Linked DNA regions of Homo sapiens: region 1 is linked to region 2. Evidence: promoter capture Hi-C in human tissues and cell types (Jung and others, 2019). All regions are on one chromosome and are shown on one strand. The core of a region is centred on a gene start or on the middle of the fragment in contact, and the rest is flanking DNA. Distances in the headings are between cores, read along the strand shown. Region 1 overlaps ZBTB40 (zinc finger and BTB domain containing 40). Region 2 holds the start of ZBTB40 (zinc finger and BTB domain containing 40).

Region 1 (3,610 bases), core at 169-2,668, 63 kb before region 2:
CCACTCATTCTCTGCTCAAAACCCTTCTATGGCTTCATGTGGTAGGCGGGATAATGGCCCCCAAAGATGTCCATGTCCTAATTCCTCAAACCTGTGTGTATGTTACCATACATGGCAAAAGGACTTTGTGAATGTGACTGGATTAAGGATCTTGTGATGGGGGGGTTGTCTTGGATTATCCAGGTGGGCTCAATGTAATCGCAAGGGTCCTCATAAGAGGGAGGAAGAAGAGTCAGAAAAGGAGGTATGGTGATGGAGGCAGAGGTTGGGGTGATGTGGCCAAGAGCCAGGGAATGCGGGCAACGTCTAGGGGCTGGAAAGGCAAGGAATGAGATCTCCCCTAGAGCCTCCAGAAGGAACTCTGCCGAAAGCTTGAATTTAGCCTCACAAGACCCATCTTGGATTGCTATCCTCCAGAATGGTAAAAGAGTATATTTGGGTTGTTTTAGGCCAGCATTTGTGGTAATTTGTTACAGCAGCAGGATAAACTAACACACTTCACATAAAAACCAAAAGTCCTCACCTTGGCTTATAAGACCCTCCAAGGTCCAGCCTTTGCTAGCATCTCTGGCCTTATCTCTTAATGCTCTTCCTCGTTGACTCTGCTTTAGCCCCTTCTAGTTTTCTGTGGTCTCTCATGCAGGTAAAGCTCGTTTCCACCGGGGAGGCAGCTCTGCACTTGGGATGCTCTCCTTCTAGGTCTTTCACTGGCTCCATCTCTCACTTTGTTTAGGTTTCTCCACAAATGCCATCTTGCAGAGGCCTTCTCTGATGATACAAATAGTGTCCCCCAAGCCCTGTCCTCTCACTGTGTACCCTGCTTTATGCTTCTTCATAGTAATAACTGCTATCTAAATTTATACTATATATTTATTTGTTTATTGTCAGTTTTACCCAGTGGGATGTAAGTCCCATGACAGGGGTGCGTATATTTATAATACCCCATGTCTGAAACAATGCTTGTGAAATTCATTCACTCAGCAAATATCGATTGAAGGCCTACTATTGCCAAGTACTAGTCTAAGTCCCATGGATACAGCAGTGGGAAAAGAAAGACTAACAGCTTGCCACTCATGACACTTGCATTCTAACAGGGAAGACTAAGCAGAAATAAATTACTAAAGTAGATACTACATCATATGAGAAGCACTATGGGAGAAAAATACTGCATGGAAACCAGGGGTGGGGTGCTGAGACCTTACAGAGGGTGGCCCAGGAAGGGACTCACAGAGAAGGTAAGTGTGAGTAAGGTCTCAAAGGAGGTGAGGAAGTGAAACGTGAGATGTCTGATGGGAAGCGTCCCCAGCAAAGGGAAGGGTAAGAATAAAGGTCCTGGAGCAGGTGCCTGCGGGCCTGAGGCCTGGCCAGAAAGCTAAAATGTGCAGGCCTAAGAGATGAAGTCAGAGAGGAATCAGGAACCTTAATCACAGAGGGCTGAGGAGGCTATCTTAAGGACTCTGGATTTCACAACTGAGTGGGACAAAAAGCCATTGAAGAATTTGGAGCAGAGAAGTGACCTGATAGGGTTTATTTATTTTTTAAGTATCAAGAGAAATGGTGAAAGCAAGACCAGCTTTGAGGCTACTGTGACAGTCCACGTCAAACAATGGTTACCTTATAATTTATAAAGAAATGCTCTAAACAATAGGTAGGCTGCTCCAAAAAGCCTTCCCTGACAATGTACCTCCTCCTCCCCTCCAACTGGACTAGAGACCCCTTCTCCATCCTTCCTCATCACGCTGGTGTTATTCCACATTATACCGCTGACAATCTGCATTGTAACGGGCGCTACACTCCCCTCTCCCTGCCCCCTTCAGGCCACAAGCTATGGGCACACAGGAATCCCAGCTCAGCCACTCGGCATCTGCCACTGTCTGATCCACGGTAGGTGCTTAGTCAGGGTCCTTCTCATGCTTGAACTCGACTTCAAAGCTCAAATAATTTTATGTAAATTCTCTATAACTTTTAATGGCAAAAACCACAATGACTTTTCCACAAGACCTAATATAAAGTCATAGGAGGTTAGCCAGTCTCTTTCAGAAGCTCTCCCAGTAAGCAGTTTACGTCTGTGCACAGAGCTATTCCCAGTCGTCTGTTTGCCTAGAGGTTGTGCATTGTTTTTTAATTTTATTTATTATTATTATTATTTTTGAGACGGAGTCTCACTCTGTTGCCCAGGCTGGAGTGCAGTGGCACAATCTCAGCTCACTGCAAGTTCCACCTCCCAGGTTCACACCATTCTCCTGCCTCAGCCTCCCGAGTAGCTGAGACTCCAGGTGCCCGCCACCACGCCTGGCTAATTTTTTGTATTTTTTAGTACAGATGGGGTTTCACCATGTTAGCCAGGATGGTCTCAATCTCCTGACCTTGTGATCCGCCTGCCTCAGCCTTATTTTTTTTTTGATACTTAACTTTTGTGGGTACACAGTAGGTGTATATATTCACAAGGTACATGTGATGTTGTGCTGCAGGCATGCAATATGAAATAACTGCATCAGGGAGAATGAGAGATCCATCCCCTCCAGCATTTATCCTCTGTGTAATAAATAATCCAAATTACACTGTATTTAAAATGTACAATTAAGTTATTATTGACTTTAGTCACCCTGTTGTGCTATCAAATTGTTTTGTTTTTGAGATATATATCACACCTAATCCAAATGGGGTTTAGGCAGTTCGCAGTGAAAGTCTGCAGGAGAAATGAACTGTGCCCCGCCTTACCTTCTGAGTGCTTCTTCTTGGTGTGATAGGCCAGGGCGGAGGCCTGGGTGAAGGTCATGAGGCAGTGCTTGCACATGAACGGGCGGTCCCCGGTGTGAAGGCGAAGGTGGTTCTTCAGGGTGGAATTGGCTGCAAACTTCGCCCCACACTCTTCACAGGAGAAAGGCTTCTCATCGAAGTGCTCTGTCAGCTTATGGTACTGCATGCCTAGGGAAGCCAAGCACACCAGAGGCCAGAAGAGATGCTACTAATCAGTGTTAGGAATCTAGCACAGGATACCAAGAGCACTGTCTCAGCCCAGGCCTCCAGAGGAAGCACAGCATGAAGCCCAGGGTGCCAGGCCACGCTGGTACCCACTGCACACAGCCACGCTGCTCTCTACCCACCAACTGGCATCCCCAAAGTCACCTGGCCTTACTCCTGGATGGAGCCGGTGGAAAGTAATGCTGGGCTTATCTTCCCCATTCCCTTCTCTCTCTTAAATAGGACCCTGCCACCCAGAACTAGGGAAACTCAACTTGCTTTTATATTTCATTAGGTTTATCCAAATTCTAGGACAAGGGAAACCATTCTGACTGTACATCCCATGATTTCCATGACTCTTGTTTGTTACCAAGAAACAAGTGGCACATGGAAACATGAGCCAGGTATTAAGTAGCTGGTTATCACTGTAAACAGTAAGAGCTGTAAGTTATTGTGTGCTCACTCTGTTACAGGCAGTGCACTGGTGTTTAGCTCTGTTACCTTAAGTCTTCATAACAATGCAACAGAGTAAGTGGTATCAGGGTGCTGCTTTAATAGATTTGGGGAAATCAAAGCTCGGGGGCTGATTCCAAAGCCCATGCTCTTAAAATATTACCCTGCCTCTGTAGGAACCTGCTCTATTTTC
Region 2 (3,634 bases), core at 52-2,551:
GTACAATTCCAGGGAAGAACAAACAATTCCAGGTAGAAAAGACTTGAAAGAATAAAATCCAAAGCAGTTTGACCGGTGCCATCAGGCAGGGGGCTCCCAGGGACAGGCTCAATTTGGCAGCCCTATAACCTAGTACACCTATACATATATTAACCACTCAGAACAAATTTCTTCCTCGTTTGTAAAATGGAAATACCATACTTACTTATAAAGCGTCGTCATAAAGTAGAACAACACTTGTATGAATATAAATAAAGCACCTGGTTCATTGCAGCACTGGCTGCATGGTACCAACGCTATTCAAAGCAGGAGAAACTCTGAATAGTCAGTAAGACCAGAAGGGAAGCCAGAGTGTTCTGTCAACTAAAGTGCTCTCGGTGCATCGCGCAGTTTTAACTCTTTTCCCACTCCAGAAGAACCGACGAGAGGAATAGCTGAATGACAACACTGATCCAATCTCCTTGTGTTTAGGGCAGGGGTCAGTAAACTTTTGCTGTAAGGGACCAGACAGAAATATTTCTGGCTTTGTGAGCCAGCCGATCAAAGCCAAGCAACGGCTGCGCAACTACTCAGCTCTGCCCTCTTGGCAGGAAAGCAGCCATAGACAATACATCAACAATGAACAGGGCCGTGTTCCAATAAAACTTCATTTATGGACTTGATTTCATAGAACTTTCGCAAATTACATGAAATATTCTTCCCCCTAACCATTTGCAACTGTAAACAAAGACCGAGAGGGGAAGAGAGAAGGGGGGCATGGATTAGGCCCAAGGCCATAGTCCGCTGACGCCCGGCGAAGGGACCTGAAGGGAGGGGGAGTGAGACAGCGACAAGAGGCCTCCGGACGGGCCGAGAGGGAGGTGCGGGGCGACAGCGAGCCCCAGGCGGTGTCAGGTCGGGCCTGGCGCCCTGAGTGGGTCCCCGCGGTCTCTCCCCTCCGCAGTCTACAGCAGAGCCGGCGCCAGGGGTGCGGACCGCCCCTGGAGGGGGCACGTCCGGGGTGTAGGTGAGGCGGCCGTGATTCGGCCGAGTCCCGCGGAGTTCGCCACGCGGAAGGGTCTGTATACACCCCTCATTTAGGGCGCACCCGGGCCCCCGCTGCAGGAAGGGTCTCCACGCGGAGTCCCAGCCCCGTTTCTATGGTTACCTGTTCAGCACCGATTCAAACTGCCGTTCTTTATTGACAGCGCCATAGAGGACACGAACACTCCTGCCCGAAGGGAACAATAAAGCTTTCGCCATTCAACAGCGCCGGAGACGCCAGAAGGCGGCCATCTTGAGGCCGGCGCGCAATGGGTATCAGAGGGGAGGGGGCGGCCCGACCTGCCCCACGCGCCGCGGTCACGTGCTGGGGGCGGGGCCTGCGTCACGCGCTCGCTCTCCACCTATGCTAGGACGGCGGGGGCCGGCTGGTTGCTAGGCTCTTCTCTGACCTCTGACCTTGGCCACTCCCTCCTTCCCTCCCCACACTTCCTAAGTAAAGTTTTTTTCTTTTTTTTTTTTTTGAGATGGGAGATTCGCTCTTGTTTCCCAGGCTGGAGTGTAGCGGCGCGATCTCGCCCCACTGCAGCCTCCGCCTTCCAGGTTCAAGCGATTCTCCTGCCTCAGCCTCCCGAGTAGCTGGGATTACAGGCGCGCGCCACCACGCCCTGCTAATTTTTTTTTTCTCTTCTATTTTTAGTAGAGACAGGATGTCACCATGTTGGCCAGGCTGGTCCCGAACTCCTGAGCCCAGATGATCCACCTGCCTCGGCCTCCCACCATGCCCGGCCCTAAGGAAAGTTCTAATGGAGCTCCGCAGTCTCGCTCCGGCAGCTCTAGGATTAGGATTTTGTTTCAAAGGAGGGCAAGGAAGTGAACACAAAAGGCTTCGTTTTTCCAAAACAACACATTCACGTGCGAGGCGGAGAGGCGACCTGAGCCGCGTCCCCAGCCCGCACTCTTTGTGGGACAGGCTTGGCGCTGGTGGGGCGCAGTGGGCTGAAGGCATCCTGGAGGCATCCTGATCCTGCCTCTCGCACCTCCCAATTTTGGGATTTAGGGGCTTTGGGATTTAGTCCTAGCTTTTCTTTTGCTCATTTTCCTTCTCACACACTATGCGTTCCCTGTTGAAGCGTCCCCTTGCCACCCTTCCTTACACAAACATTTAAATCAGATCCAGCAGTAACAAACTGAGTCACCTCCGCGCTGGCCCACTGAACACAGTCACCCTGTCACTGACATGCAGCCACTTTTTCTGTCCCTGACAGTTACGTGCCCAAATCCAGCCATCTTAGTGCAATGTCCAGCTTCCTCTGTGGTTATACCTTTTCCATCTGCAATGTCAATATTCAGTCGTTCTGAGAGCTGTCTCTGGCTGACTGACTCACCCCATCACCGTTTTACATCACAAATTCAATCTACTGGGCAGAACTGTCACTTGCATTGTTGCTGTCTCCCGGTCGATCATATTTACTGTCACTGTCTGACATGCAGCTACCGTCATTGACCATAAACTTCAAACGGTTCTGTTCAAAATAGCACTTTGTTTGCCCAGCTGTTGCCCTTTCTGTTGTTTTCACTGTCATTGTCATGCAGCCACTTTTGCTGCCACACAGTCAAGCCAGTATTTAACAGGCCCCTTCAGGGTACACTGTTGTCCTCATACCCTTGTGCCCAGTTAGTCACTTTCACTATTATACTCATGTCACCGTTACATTCAGGGTCGGATTTACTGTAGCTGTTATTTAGTCACTTTTGTAGTAACTGGAACCACGCCTACAGCTGTTGTGTCTCCTAAGCCCTCATTTCCACCAGCCTCACATTCTCTTTTAGTGGGAACATAGGGTTGCTAGATTTAGCAAACAAACACCTAGAAGGGTGCTTGGCACATAGTAGGTGCTCTAGAAATATTTATCGAGTTAATGGGATTACAGGTGTGAGCCACTGGGCATTTTGGGAGCATTTTGGGAGGCCGAGGCAGGCGGATCACCTGAGGTCAGGAGTTCGAGACCAGCCTGGCCAACATGGTGAAACCCCCGTCTCTACTAAAAATAGAAAAATTACCTGGGCATGGTGGCAGGTGCCTGTAATCCCAGTTACTCAGGATGCTGAGGCAGGAGAATCGCTTGAACCTGGGAGGCGGAGGTTGGAGTGAGCTGAGATCACGCCACTGCACTCCAGCCTGGGCAACGAGAGCGAGACTCCGTCTCAAAAAAAAAAAAAAGAGAAATATTTATCGAATTAATGGATTTTAAAAAACAGTATCATTGCCAATGTGCTGTATGTGAATGCAGATGGCTTGAAGCTCAGGAGTCTCAATAGGAATAAGTTTTCAGGCACCATCTGTCCCTCCTGTTCCACTTAACAAGACTTCAAATCCTATAGGGACTAAACGAAGAGAGCAAAAGAAAAGTGGCCACCAAGTGTACTCAGTTATTGGGACAGCAGTGACAAAGAAGAGGCTTTCTATAACTTTTTTTAAATGAATACATGCTTATTATAAAATATTTAGGAAATATGGAAAGGAATCTTTCCCTGGGGGGATTGTTTTAGACATCTCCCAACACACCCCACACATGTATCCACAGTCAGTGGATCAGTGGCTGCAGTTTCCCCATCACCATTTACTTAAGGTTTTGCATTAACAGAAGTT

The links. The method cuts DNA at HindIII sites, captures the fragments that hold promoters and counts their contacts. A contact is called where the count stands out against the background at its distance.
Region 1: a contact is called between a fragment that was not itself captured here and the fragment with the promoter of ZBTB40 in region 2, in 1 of the 25 tissues and cell types used here (H1 embryonic stem cells).

The regions. Positions count from the first base shown.
Region 1 is chr1:22,512,242-22,515,851 of GRCh38, reverse strand. ZBTB40 (zinc finger and BTB domain containing 40) reads right to left here. Exons shown (of 18, transcript NM_014870.4): 12 at 2,722-2,928. Among named protein-coding and RNA genes, the nearest start is that of EPHA8, 49 kb to the left of the region's middle. The HindIII fragment of the contact is 7,383 bases long and covers 1-3,610 here.
Region 2 is chr1:22,449,518-22,453,151 of GRCh38, reverse strand. ZBTB40 (zinc finger and BTB domain containing 40) reads right to left here and starts at 1,301. Exons shown (of 18, transcript NM_014870.4): 1 at 1,148-1,301. RefSeq lists silencers at 818-907, 1,248-1,447, 1,762-2,056 and enhancers at 1,018-1,097, 811-1,372. The HindIII fragment of the contact is 15,295 bases long and covers 1-3,634 here.